Linked DNA regions of Homo sapiens: region 1 is linked to region 2. Evidence: promoter capture Hi-C in 16 types of primary human blood cells and fetal thymus (Javierre and others, 2016). All regions are on one chromosome and are shown on one strand. Each heading gives the region's core, a stretch centred on a gene start or on the middle of the fragment in contact. The rest is flanking DNA. Distances are from core to core; before and after follow the strand shown. Region 1 overlaps TNIP2 (TNFAIP3 interacting protein 2). Region 2 holds the start of NOP14 (NOP14 nucleolar protein).

The links. The method cuts DNA at HindIII sites, captures the fragments that hold promoters and counts their contacts. A CHiCAGO score of 5 or more calls a contact.
Region 1: a fragment that was not itself captured here is called in contact with the fragment with the promoter of NOP14 in region 2 in 2 of 17 cell types (naive B cells and non-activated CD4 T cells); the score reaches 5.3 in naive B cells.

What each region holds. Positions count from the first base shown.
Region 1 is chr4:2,746,215-2,753,508 of GRCh38, reverse strand. It overlaps TNIP2 (TNFAIP3 interacting protein 2), which reads left to right. Exons shown (of 6, transcript NM_024309.4): 2 at 5,564-5,854. Among named protein-coding and RNA genes, the nearest start is that of TNIP2, 6.5 kb to the left of the region's middle. RefSeq lists enhancers at 5,672-5,721, 7,132-7,294. The HindIII fragment of the contact is 3,160 bases long and covers 3,251-6,410 here.
Region 2 is chr4:2,958,412-2,965,036 of GRCh38, reverse strand. NOP14 (NOP14 nucleolar protein) reads left to right here and starts at 1,631. Exons shown (of 18, transcript NM_001291978.2): 1 at 1,631-1,912. The coding sequence starts at 1,718. GRK4 (G protein-coupled receptor kinase 4) reads right to left here and starts at 1,466. Exons shown (of 16, transcript NM_182982.3): 1 at 915-1,466. The coding sequence starts at 966. RefSeq lists silencers at 794-843, 1,014-1,443 and enhancers at 906-1,439, 1,440-1,973, 3,004-3,073. The HindIII fragment of the contact is 6,609 bases long and covers 1-3,471 here.

The DNA of each region.
Region 1 (7,294 bases), core at 3,581-6,080, 210 kb after region 2:
CCTGGTCCTGTCTTCCCAACATGTAAGCATGTAGGTTTTGTTTTGGGATTTTTATTTTTTTATTTTTTTGAGACAGGGTCTCACTCTGTTACCCAGGCTGGAGTGCAGTGGCACAAACATGGCTCACTGTGGCCTCAACCTCCTGGGCTTACGTGATCCTCCTGCCTCAGCCTCCCATATAGCTGGGACCACAGGAGTGTGCCATCACACCTGGCTAATTTTATTTTTTTTTTGTAGAGACGGGATCTTGCTGTGTCGCCCAGGCTGGTCTAGAACTCCTTTCTTCAAGTGATCCTCCTGCCTTGGCCTCCCAAAGTGCTAGGATTACAGGCATGAGCCACCACGCCCAGCATGGGGGGATTTTTAATTATTTAAGGAACATTTTAATGATTTAGTTTTGTTTGTTTGTTTTTTTATTTTTATTTTTATTTTTTTAGAGACAGGGTCTTGGTCTGTGACACTGCCACCTAGGCTGGAATGCCTTGGGGCCATCATAGCTCACTGTAACCTTGAACTCCTGGGCTCAACCAGCCCTCCCATCACAGCCTCCCGAGTGTCTAGGACTATAGGCGAAGAGCCTACCACAAGGACTATGAGCCACCACACCTGGCTAACTTCTTAAGTTTTTGTAGAGAAGGGGTCGCATGATGTTGCCCAAGCTGGTCTCAAACTCCTGGCCTCCAGGGATCCTCCTGTCTCGGCCTCTCAAAGTGCTGGTATTACAGGCGTGAGCCACTGTGCTGGCCTTATCTGGTATTTTATGCAATTACATATTTATTGCTCATCCCAACGTTCAATCTGAGGTCGGTCATGGAACCTGTGGAAGAATGGAGAGGTTTGTCACCTCCTGCAGGCCCTGGGTTCACTGAGGTGGCAGTGCAGAGTTAAAGACACAGCAGGAAGCAAGCCGTTGCTAGGTTGCTCTCATCTATGAGAGCCCGTTAGGAGCAGGAACCCTGGACCAGTAGGGACTGAGGGCTCCCAGAGAGAGTGCTGAGGCTCAGAATGTGGAGGAGCTGACCAGTGCGTCTGTGATCAAGCTGCGGTCAGTGTGTGATGGGGCAAGATCAGGCCAGAGAATTGTGGTCCTCAGTGCAGCCACAGCTGGACTTGAGACCTTACCTCATCTGTAACACAAGGCCTGAGTGGATAACTTTACAAAGCCCCTCCAGTTAATACTTTCTGGAATAATGGCACCAATTCATTGTGCAACCTGGTCCTGCCCAACCCCATCCTGTCACCATTCTCGGGACCAGCTTCATAGGCTTTGCCTGGTCCTGGCGTATCAGCCCCCTTTCCCTTCCGGCTTAGCTTAGCTTTGCTTTGCTTGTTTTCTTGGCTCTTTCTTTTCTTTTCTCTTCTCTTCTTTTCTTTCTTTCCTTCCTTGTTCCTTTTTTTTTTTTTTTAAACTGAGTCTTGCTCTGTCGCCAGGCTGGAGTGCAGTGGCGGGATCTTGGCTCAGTGCAACCTCCACCTCCCGGGTTCAAGCGATTCTCCTGCCTCAGCCTCCTGGGTAGCTGGGACTACAGGCGCCCACCAGCACGCCTGGCTAATTTTTTGTATCTTTAGTAGAGGCGGGGTTTCACCATGTTGGCCAGGCTGGTCTTGAACTCCTGACCTCGTGATCCACCCACCTCAGCCTCCCAAAGTGCTGGGATTGCAGGCATGAGCCACCGCCCCGGGCCACCTTCCTTGTTCCTTTCTTTCTTCCTTTCTCCTCCCCTCCCCTCCCCTCTTTTTGACAGGGTCACTCTGTTGCCCAGGCTGGAGTGCAGTAGCATGATCATAGCTCACTGCAGCCTTGACCTCCTGGGCTTAAGTGATCCTCCTGTCTCAGCCTCCCGAGTAGCTGGGACTACAAACGCCCACCACCATGCCTGGCTAATGTTTTTTGTATTTTTTGTAGAGACAAGGTCTCGCCATGTTGCCCAGGCTAGTCCCAACCCTTGGGCTCAAGTGATCCTCCCACCTCGGCCTCCCAAAGTGCTGGGATTACAGGCTTTGGGAGAATACACTTCTGTTGTTTAAGACACCAAGTTTGTGATACTTTGTTGCCGCAGCGCTAAAAGCCAAGAGGCCACTGTGCCTCTTAAGGCCAATCCACAAGACTATTAATAGAGCTGTTTACACTTTTGTGTTCTGAGCGTGGAGCTATGGAGTTGTGGGTCCCGGCGACAGGCTTTCCTGAGAGATGTCAGCCCAGTTGCTGACTAGTCTGTGTGTTGTGCCTGTGTGTGTAGACCCACAACTCCAGCTCGTACCTTGTTTTCTGACCACAGTGGTCGAGGTGCTGTTGTGTCCTAAGAACTGTTACTAACTGGACAAGGCACTCAGACAGATAAACCAGCACAAAGCTCTGCAACTTCAGAGCCAGTGACAAATGCCAGAAGCCCGGGGGCTGGAGGGGTCCTGGGGCCCTCATGCTGCCGAGGGGAGGATGAGTGGGGCAGCCCTTTGCAGGGCTGGCCTGCCCCCACGGGTTGAGCGTAGAGCCTGCGTCCTGATCTGTCTCTGTATGGCCCAGTCTTATTCCCATTTACTGGGCATCTGTGTGGGGCTGGGCTCAGTGTTGAGTACTAGGGTGTGGAGGCAAGAGAGAGCCACGCCCTCAGGATCTACGAGCTGTGGACATGCTGCCCTCCTGTTTGTGGAGCTGTTTGTTTCTCCTACTGTCAGCATTTGACCAACGCAGGAAGGAGGCTCCGAAATCAGATTTTACCTGGGCACGGTGACCCCTGCTGAGGCAGGAGGAGGATTGCTTGAGGCCAGGAGTTCAAGACCAGCCTAGGCAACATAGCCACACCCTGTCTTTATCAAAAAAAAAAAAAACCAGAAGTCAGGTTTTGCTCAAAGTCCTTTATCCCTGAAGAGGGTCTCACTGTCACCCAGGCTAGAGTGCAGTGGCACCGTCACAGCACACTGCAGCCTTGACCTCGAGCCCATGGTCCCAGCTATTTGGGAGGTTGAGACGGGAGGAACACTTGGACCCAGGAGTTCAAGGCTTCGGTGAGCTGTGATTATACCACTGTATTGCAGCCTCGGTGTCAGGGCGAGACCCTGTCTCTAAAATAATAAAATAATAATAATAATAATAATAATAATAATAATAATCAGGGTTCTCGCAGTAATAGGGCTTAGTATTTTGTTCCATTGTGATGAGAACATTCTAGGTTCCCGGTCTCTGTCCCTTCTTACCTCAAGTACTAGACACAGAGGCTGGACCCTTCTCCCGCCACTTCTGGGGGAAGCTTGGGCTCCTCCGTGACTTTTCTGAAACTGTTTCTTCACTTGTGGGATGGACTAGTTGAGCCTGCTTCACCTCCTTCATGTAATGTACTGTTTATTTTGGAGGATTCTTTGAAAACGGAAAAGTACAAATTTAAGGCCAGATATTAAAAAATTGTCAGGTCAGATGTGGTGGCTCGTGCCTATAATCCCAGCACTTTGGGAGGCTGAGGCAGGCGGATCACTCAAGTCCAGGACCAGACTGGGCAAAGTGGTGAAACCTTGTCTCTGCAAAAAATACAGAAATTAGCCAGGTACGGTGGCATGCACTTGTAATCCAACTACTTAGGGTGCTGAGGCAAGAGGATCACTTGAGTCTGGGAGGTGGAGGCTACAGTGAACCATGGTGGCACCACTGTACTCCAGCCTGGGTGACAGGGCGAGACCCTATCTCAAAATAAAATTGTCATTTTAAGAACCTTTTTAAATTCTTTAAGAAGTAATTGGGGTTGGGTGTGTTAATTTCCTAGAGCTGCTGTAACAAAGTAACACAAACTGGGGGGCTTCAAGCAACAGAAATTTAATCTTTCACAGTTCTAGAGGCCAGAAGCCAGAAACCAAGGCATCGGCTCTCTCTCAAGGTTCTAGGGAAGGACCCTTCCTCGCCTCTTCAGCTTCCTGTGGGGGCCACCAATCCTTGGTGTTCCTTGGCCTTTATCCACAAGACAAGACGTCACTCCTATCTTTGTTGTCACGTGGTCGTCTTCTCTCTGTGTGTCTGTCCAGACTTCTGTCTGCTTACAAGGACACCAGTCCCGTCCTAATCCATTTTGTCCCCACCTTAACTAATTACATCTGCAAAGACCCTATCTCTAAGTAAGGTTTCATTCCCAGATACCGGGGAATGGGAGGTTTGGTTGTGGACATCTTTTTGGGGTTACCCACCACAGTGGAGTTTCTACCTATCCCATCAAAAAAGTGCTTGGAATTGCCACTTTGATAATTTGATGATAACTGGGTGTGGTGGCTTGAGCCTGTAGTCCCAGCTATTCAGGAGGCTGAGGTGGGAGGATTTGCTTGAGCCTAGGAGTTTAAGACCAGCTTGGGCTATATATAGCGAAACCCTCATCTCAAAAAAACATTTTGATGATATGAAATCTAAAATTATGAACTTGCTTGTGAAAATAGAATTTGGCAGGGCGTGGTGGCTCACACCTGTCATCCCAGCACTTTGGGAAGCCAAGGCGGGTGGATCTCTTGAGCCCAGGAGTTCAAGACCAGCCTGAGCATCACAGCAAAACCCTGTCTCTACAAAATACAAAAAAGTTAACCAGGCACGGTGGCACGTGCCTGTAGTCCCAGCTACTCAGGTTAGGATGGAGAATCGCTTGGGCCTGGGGAGGTCGAGGCTGCAGTGAGCCATGATTGTGCCACTGCACTCTAGCCTGGGTGACAGTGAGACCCTGCCTCAAAAAAAAAAAAAAAAAAATTGCTGGGCGCAGTGGCTCACGCCTATAATCCCAGTACTTTGGGAGGCCAAGGCTGGCGGATCATCTAAGGTCAGGAATTCGAGATTAGCCTGGCCAACATGGTGAAACCCCGTCTCTACTAAAAATATAAAAATTGGGCCAGGCGTGGTGGCTCACGCCTGTAATCCCAGCACTTTGGGAGGCTGAGGTGGGCGGATGCCGAGGTAGGCGGATCATGAGGTCAGGAGATCGAGACCATCCTGGCTAACATGGTGAAACCCCATCTCTACTAAAAATACAAAAAATTAGCTGGGCGTGGTGGCGTGTGCCTGTAGTCCCAGCTACTCGGAAGGCTGAGGCAGGAGAATGGTGTGAACCTCTGAGGCGGAGCTTGCAGTGAGCTGAGATCGCTCCACTGCACTCGAGCCTGAGCGACAGAGCGAGACTCCGTCTCAAAAAAAAAAAAAATTCTTTTAGCTGGGCTTGGTGGTGGGCTCTATAATCCCAGCTACTGAGGAGGCTGAGGTGGGAGAATCGCTTGAACCTGGGAGGTGGAGGTTGCAGCGAGCCAAGATTGTGCCATTGCACTCCAGCCTGGGCAACAGAGTGAAACTCTGTCTCAAAAAAAAAAAAAATTTGAGATGAAGTTTCAGAACAGAACATTGTAGGCTGAAAAACTCCAGAGTTAATAGTTCAAATGCCCAACTTCTGAGTGAGTAATTGTTAGTTCAAACGCCCAACTTCTGAGTGAGTATGTTTGTGTCTGGTGATGGGGCATCCACGCCAGGTCTTCTTTTGCTTTCTGAACATTTGCTCTTGACACTGCTTCTTTTAATTCAGTAAACTGTGCTTTTAAATCTTCCACTTAGGAAATTGAGAGGCTGACTGAGCGACTAGAAGAAAAAGAGAGGGAGATGCAGCAGCTGCTGAGCCAGCCCCAACACGAGCGAGAGAAGGAAGTCGTCCTGCTACGGAGGAGCATGGCAGAAGGGGAGCGCGCCCGGGCCGCCAGTGACGTCCTGTGCCGCTCCTTGGCCAACGAGACCCATCAGCTGCGGAGGACGCTGACCGCCACCGCCCACATGTGTCAGCATCTGGCCAAGTGTCTGGATGAACGACAGCATGCACAAAGGAATGTGGGGGAGAGAAGTCCTGACCAGGTAGGCCACAGTGTAAGCAGAGTGTGGGGAAGACCTCTGTGTGCTGGGAGCATCGCCTACAGGCCCCTGATCACAGAGGTGGGGGGGCGCCCCAGAACCCACTTCTGTTCTCAGTAACGAGAGTCAGCTGACGGGGCAAAGCTCACTCATCCAAGGGTTTCTTTTAAAATGATGGAACATGCAAAATGTAATAGGAAAGCAGGCAGCCACCTCACTGCCCAGCACCAGGCCTGTGGCCGACCCCGCTCCCAGGTGGGAGATGGCACTTGGCTTTCATCTGCCTCAGCTGAGGATGAGGAGGAGGAGCTGAGCCTGGCAGAGCTGCCTGGAGGAAGTGTAGTCACATCCTCCATCCGAGGAAACTGAAGCAGAGCCAGGTGGTACTGCTGGGGATGGGGAGTGCCTCCAGTTCCACACCCCAAACTCCTGGAAGGACCGTGAGTGCCCGCCTTCTTCAGGCTCAGTGTGTCTGAGTGCATGCAGGCACAGCTGGAACCGCCATCTCCAAAGCTGGCTTTAGGCATGTCCTTGCCAGCAGCACGGCCTCCCGCAAGCTTGGAGACCTGGCTCAGGGCCACAGCCTCCTCATCATCAAAGCAAGGGCCGGGGGCAGCGGCACCAAGTGACAGTGAGGGCCAAAGAAGGGTTCGCTGGACCTCCAGGATAGGCTGGATCTGGGCTGTAGCTCTCTGTGGGGTCTAGTGGGAGAGAGAAGGACCGTGGGAGTTTCAGCATCAGGAGAAACCAGGGGGCTCCTAGGCAGAAAAGTAGGGGAGCAGTGGCCCAAGGCATCTGTGTGCCAGGCACCTTCCATCTTGCTGGTGCTTGTGGTGGTCTGTGTGTGGCAGGCAGGGGAATGGAGGCACTCCGTGCACATCTCACCTAGGCTGAGACCCCATCTCACTCGCACTGCCGGGCACAGGGCCTCTCGCTCGGGTCCTTTCTAGGCAGTTCTCTGAGGCAGCACCAAGGTTCATGCAGAAACACACGCGCTGGGATGTTCTGTGGCAGACAGTACATCCCGCACCCATCAGCAGCTTCACCGAGGCGCCCACTGGGGAGAAGGTTGGTCTGAGAACTGCCCACCTCAGCTGGGTGGATTCCAGGCGGGGAACCTCAGAGAGGACACAGCTGCATTCAGAAACCAGAGGAAAAGTGCCGTCTGGGCGGAGGCAGGGTGTTCTGGTCTGATTTTGAGTCACTGTGTCATTTCCCTCTGGGGATTTGAAAGGAGCCACACACAGTGTTGAGCCTGAGGCGGGGGTGGGGCCAGTGGCAGGGTAGGCCCTCATCACAGTCTCTAAATAAGTGTCACTTCTCAGCCCTGAACTCAGCTGAGTCACCCGGGGCTTCCCGGTGTAGGCTGTGTTAGGACGTGCACTTCCTTTGTCATTTGAGGGGAATTCTCAAAAATTATGTCACTGAGATACAGTCAGAATT
Region 2 (6,625 bases), core at 382-2,881:
GTGGCCTTGCATAGCTGGTGGCCTTGTAGCTGCGTTGAAAGAAAAAACCAAGAACTGGCTAAACACAGATATTTGTCCTCTTTTTTTTTTTTCTTCACCCCTGCTCTGGAAGGGGGGTGTCTGGAGCCTATTCCTTTGGATTCGACTTCTCAAACAGAACAGCGTTATCTTATAACTGTCCTTAAAGTGAGCTTGCTAAGCAAAAGAAAACTTGTTCTTCTTTTCTTTTTAACCCTTGCCTTGCCACATTCTGGGCCTTGGCTTTTTCTTTTCTTGGAGTGAATGAATGCAGTACTTATTACTATTTTTAAATTTCTGCCTCACTTTAATAATGATAAAAGGCTGAATTTTTGCCAACTTGTCCATCTGTGACCACGTCGTGCTAAAGCACACTTGACACACCATAGAGCCTCAGATCAAACCTCAAAACCAAGCAGCTATGTTAAAAATAACATTGCCCTACAATCATTATCGGAAGGTTCTCGCCCAGAGTAGTTCCCAGGCTGCTATTCTTTGTCCCCCTTAAGACCATAAAGACGCCGTTCTTTTTTGGTGGGACAGGTTGTCCAACACAAGCAGGACACTGCCTGCCGCATCCTGAAGCAACACTGTCACCGAGGTCACACCGAGAGGACAGGACAAGGACACAGGGCAAGACTAAGAAGAGCAAAGCGCAGACTTCTCTCATCTGGGCCAGGAGATGGGGACTGGGACCTGGCCCGGGCAGCCTGACCACACTGCACAGACCCCGGCTCCGGCTCCGTGCAGATCTGGGTTCCCCCAGTGGGAGGTGTCGGGGCTCTCCAGGGAAATCGGGGTTCTCCGGGGATGTCGGGTTCCTTCAGGGGGGCCAGGGTTCCCCGGGATTCGGGGTTCTCTGGGGGGGGGGTCGGGGGCGCCTGCCGCGCACCCACCTTGACGCGCTTTCAGCAGCAGCGAGTTGGCCACGATGTTCTCGAGCTCCATGTCCTGGCGCCGCCGCCGCCGGCGGATTCTGCGAGACCGAGGAGACTGAGGAGGCGGAACAGGAGGAGACGCCGCCGCCCCCGTGCATAGCTCGCCGGGCACCACCCTCTCCTCGAGCTCCGGACACGATCCCGGGAGGCTGCTCCGCCGCCACCACTGCCACCAAGGGCGCCGCCGCCGCCGCCTCCGCAGGCCCTCACCAGCAGGGGAGCGGTCGGGGCGAGGGGAGGGGGCAGCCCGACCGCGGCGGGTCCCAGCTGTCACCGCTGCCGCGCTATCGCCCCGGTTCTTCTTGGCCCCATCGCCCTCGCCTCGCGCGCGCAACTCCCTCCTCAGTGCCCTGCCCCCGGGCAGCCCCGAGTCAATGCCGTGGCTCACTTCGGACAGGGGCTCACTGGCAGGGGCGCCCGCCGCGGCCGGCGACCCGCTCCCGGGCGGGCTCGGCGCTAACGGCTTAGCTGAAGAGGGAGCGCCCCTCGCCGCCGCGGCCGGGGCACTACAGCTCCCAGAAGGCCCTGCGCCAAGAGTACACGGCGGGCCGCGGCGCGTGGCCTGCTGGGAGTTGTAGTCGCTGAGCCTATCGGCGAGTAAGCCGAGCCTGCGGGCGCGGTGTTTACTTCTCGCGAGTCGGAGGTGCTGCGCTGTTCTCGCGAGACGAGGAAGCGGTTCCGCGGCCCGGCACGTGTCTTAGGGTAGCGCGCGCCTGTCTCTCTTCGGGTCTCGGGCCCTTGGGCGCAGCGGGGCGCGCGCCATGGCGAAGGCGAAGAAGGTCGGGGCGCGAAGGAAGGCCTCCGGGGCGCCGGCGGGAGCGCGAGGGGGCCCGGCGAAGGCCAACTCCAATCCGTTCGAGGTGAAAGTTAACAGGCAGAAGTTCCAGATCCTGGGCCGGAAGACGCGCCACGACGTGGGACTGCCCGGGGTGTCTCGCGCACGGGCCCTCAGGAAGGTAAGCGGGGGGCGCACGGGGAGCCGGAAGGCAGGATCTGGACCCCACGCTGCTCTCGGCCGGCTGCGTCCTTCTCGGTGCGTCGGTTTCCTCGTTGAGCGGCACAGGCCGTGACAGGCACACGGCACTGACTTGATAGTCCGAAAGCCTCTGCTGTTCTCTGAGCTGGAGTGACCTGGAAACTCTCGCCGTCTTGGAGACCCTGCACTCGTGTTATTTCGGCGACTCCTCCAACCGGGTCAGGCCGAGTCAGTCACTTCGGGCGGCGCCCTGGACCAAGCTGCTTGTTAACCCTTCCGCGTTTACTTTGAGCTCTGCAGGTTTGGGGACGGTGGATAGGGGCTGTGTAGGATGCTGCGTTTGATGTTTCATCGGCTCTCTCCCGAAGCGCGTAACCTTGTTCCTTGGGAAGTAACTCTATGGAAACTCATTGCTTCCTAGTTTTTTTAACTTTTTTTTTTTTAAATTTTCACTGAGGAACATACATTAGCAGGTTGGTGAAAAAATTAAGGCACAGAAAGGACAAGTGCATTTCCTAAGGTCACGCACCTGGTAAGGGCTGGGCATGCATTCACATTTCAATATCTACAAAGCCTTCTTGCTACCCCGAGCGCTTCTGTTTGACCTCGCTTCTAGGTTCGGGGAGATAAAGGTAAATAAGACTTGCCCTTGCCTTCATGAGCTCCTGATCTCTGTTCATCACAGTGTGCAAGCTGGATGGTCTTTGAATCAAAACACATATTATCCTTACTGCGCGAAGACGACAGCCTGTATAATGAATAGGCAAGATAGACTTACAGCTGACTTCGATAGGAGTCCCTCATTACACACCCCCGGGCCGGGGTGGGAGAATAAGGTAGTGTGGTTCCCTAGAAGAGACACATTTGTCTTCACCACTGAAGCCTCAGTTTTCTCATTTCAAAAGTAGAGATGATAGTATACATCCTACCCCTCGTGGTGGTTTGTGAGAATTAAGTAAGATAGCACATAGAGCACACAGCAAGTGTTCTCTAAATACTGTTATTCTTAACCTTCTTGGCTTGTCGTTCGAGTCCCGCACAGTCTGGCTGTTGTCCTTGCTTCGCCTCTTGCAACTCAGTTTGTCCAAAAGGTCTGCCTTACCTCCGAAAGTCTCTAAAGGGCCAGCTCAGGTTCACCACCCAAGCTATGTAACCCAAATAGGACAGGTTGCTCAAACTTCTGGTATTGAGCAGATCCACCTCCCTGCCCTGTGCTGAAGGCCTGGGACGGGGACGGGAATTGCTGCTCCTTTTTGGATCTCCAATGCTTGGCCCTTGGAAGAAACACAAATATTTGAAGAAATCAAAGATGGAACCTGAGTGCCTTAGGAGATCCCGGTCAGGAAAAAGTGTAATAGTTAGGAAAGTCCAAAAATTCTTCTAGAGGGAGTTACAGTCAAGTTTTGCAAGGGGAGTGAGCTGTTCATGGGCCCAGGGTGGGCAGAGGACACACATGCAAAGGCACATTGTCCCGGTATGGTGAAGTGTGGCACTCACAGCTGTCTGAGGGACAGCAGGTCGTCCAGTTGACTCCAAGCTTGATAACGCGTGTAGGGGCCGTGAGGCCGGCGCAGGAGGCCTGGGTCTTTTCATGTGGGTTAGTCCCTTAGAAGTAAACAGGCTGCCTCAGTTGGCTTCTCCCCTCTGGTCAGTTGTAGCACTCTGAGGCACTCAGTCTGGCAGGAAGAGGGCAGCCCCCAGGTGCCAGTCTCAGGACATTGCTTTATAGCTGTGCCTCAGTTTCCTTATTTCTGAAATAATTTATAAAATAAGTTATATTAATGTAGTTCTTAAATCAGTAACTATATTAATATAGTTACTATATATTAATATACTAACTATATTATTAATATAGTTACTATATATTAATATACTAACAATATTAATATATTAATATATTATTATAATATTAGCATATTAATATATTATTGTAATAGCATATTAATATATTATTATATTAGTATATTAATATATTATTATAATATTAATATATTATTAAAATATTAATATATTATTATAATATTAATATAGTATTAATATAATATTGATGTAGTATTAATATAATATTGATATAATATTAATATAATAATATTGATATAATATTAAAATAATATCGATATAATATTAATATAATATTGATATAATATTAATATAATAATATTGATATAATATTAAAATAATATCGATATAATATTAATATAATATTGATATAATAATATAATAATAATGTAATTATAATATTAATATATTGATAATGTGATTATAATATTAATATATTGATAATGTGATTATAATATTAATATATTAATATTAATGTGATTATAATATTAATATATTAATATTAATGTGATTATAATATTAATATATTAATATTAATGTGATTATAATATTAATATATTAATATTAATGTGATTATAATATTAATATAATATTAATATAATAATATATAGTAACTATATTAATAATATAGTTACTGGTCCCTTACAGTTGGTCAGGCCTTGTGCCACACGGTTTACATTTAATCCTCACCGTTATGAGGGGGAAGTACTGTTATCCCCATTTTATGCCGTAAATTCCATATGATGTCACAACATCTATATAGTTTAAGAAAGAAAGAGAATCACAATAATGTAGAATAACTCATATTACGTATTTATAGCCTAAGGGCTGTTCTTCACTAAGATTTACCCATAGAATCATATTCCAGATAATGAGAACTAATATTTTTAGAGGCAGAGATGGCTGATGCCTGCCCCATCTACCCCCTTCCTGCTAGAAGCCAGTGACACTCCCTCCCTCTGCAGGGACAGACCTCAGAAGTCTTCTCGGTGTATGCTGGGTTTGGTGGCTCACACCTGTGATCCTAGCACTTTGGGAGGCCGAGGCAGGCAGATTGCCTGAGCTCAGGAGTTCGAAACCAGCCTGGGCAACACGGTGAAACCCCATCTCTACTAAAAATACAAAAAAATTAGCTGGGCGTGGCAGCGTGCGCCTGTAATCCCAGCTACTGGGGAGGCTGAGGCAGGAGAATTGCTTGAACCCGGCAGGTGGAGGTTGTAGTGAGCTGAGATTGTGCCACTGCACTCCAGCCTGGGCGACAGAGCGAGATTCCATCTTTAAAAAAAAAAAAAAAGGTCTCAGTGTAGCATGCAAGCAGCCTCTGTCCGTACAGAGTTCATCGAGCAGTACAGGCTAGCACATGTAATGTGCTCCCATCTGATTGCCAGCTAGACCTTGTGATTTAAATAGTGAGATGTTGTTTTAAAATTTTGCTCTGCGGATAAAGAATGGTGAAGGTTCAGAGAGCTTAACCTGATTCAGTACTGTGTGTGGTTCACTATCAGCATCCAGCAGGATCTCGCTCTGGAATGGCTCGTAACAGAAGCGGAGAGAACAGAGCAATGGCGATGGAGCCCTCTGGTCTATCTGGGGACACTCGCTGTCTTTAGACTCTGGTTCAGGAAATTGTACCCAAGGTGGTTTGTTTGTGTTTTTTGTTTTTTTTTGTTTTTGAGACAGAGTCTTTGTCTGTCGCCCAGGCTGGAGTGCAGTGGCACAATCTCAGCTCACTGCAAGCTCCACTTCCCGGGTTCACGCCATTCTCCTGCCTCAGCCTCCTGAGTAGCTGGGACTACAGGCGCCCGCCACCACACCCGGCTAATTTTTTTGTATTTTTAGTAGAGACGGGGTTTCACCATGTTACCCAGGATGGTCTTGATCTTCTAACCTCGTGATCCGCCCGCCTTGGCCTCCCAGAGTGCTGGAATTACAGGCGTGAGCCACCGCGCCCGGCCCCAAAGGTGTTTTTAACAAACATTGTTTAGCACTGCCACGGTAGGAAGTTACTAGAAGTTACTAGGGATTAATAACTCAGCGTGTGTCAGTTGAAACAAATTGGTTCTTGAAATATTCTTGAAGAAAATGACGAAAATTGCCTTGGCAGTATTTATTGAACTAATGGATGGTTTCCTACTCTTCAGGTAGCAGAGGGGTTTTTCATGCATTTTAAGTGTAATAATAGCACTTTCACATTTCAAAGTGAGATAAGAGAAATGGTTTTTTCACATCCTTTTCTCCTGTCCACATGATTAATATTTCGGTTGACCTCTCCAGATGGAATGTGCTCTAAATGGAAAGGAGGGCCAGGTCGTGCTTCTGTCCCTGCTGGAGCATCTTCTGCTCTTGCCCAGCTGCTTCTTAACCCCTTCCACTCTCTTTTCCTCCTCTTCCAGCTCCTGGTTTTGACCTTAAATCTGGGTTTCTTAGCCTTTAAGTTCATCTCCGACCCTGGGGAAGTGACCTATGTCTGGAGCAAAATCTGACCTGTCCCCTCCTGAAACAGAACTTGGAACCAGAGTGGCAGTGACCAAGTCACCACACGCTCCCTCCTGCCACACGCACGCATTCTTTCAAAGTGACTTCACAAATTAGAGGAATCCCTGAGGAAGGCAAGGAACACTTAAGTCGGGTTAGATGAGAGGTTTCAAATGTCTGCCGAGGCACCGATTTGTGGTGGGTTTGTAAAACCACTGAATTGGATCATTCCAAGGGCCTTCCATGGCATCAAGATTTTGCCTTGATGCCATTTCCTTTCGGAATTGCTGTGTAAACACCAGTGTAATGGCAGTTCCTTAGCAAATAGAAGAAGTTCCGCAGCAAGAAAGAGTTTGCAATGTGGCCATCTCAGGTTGCA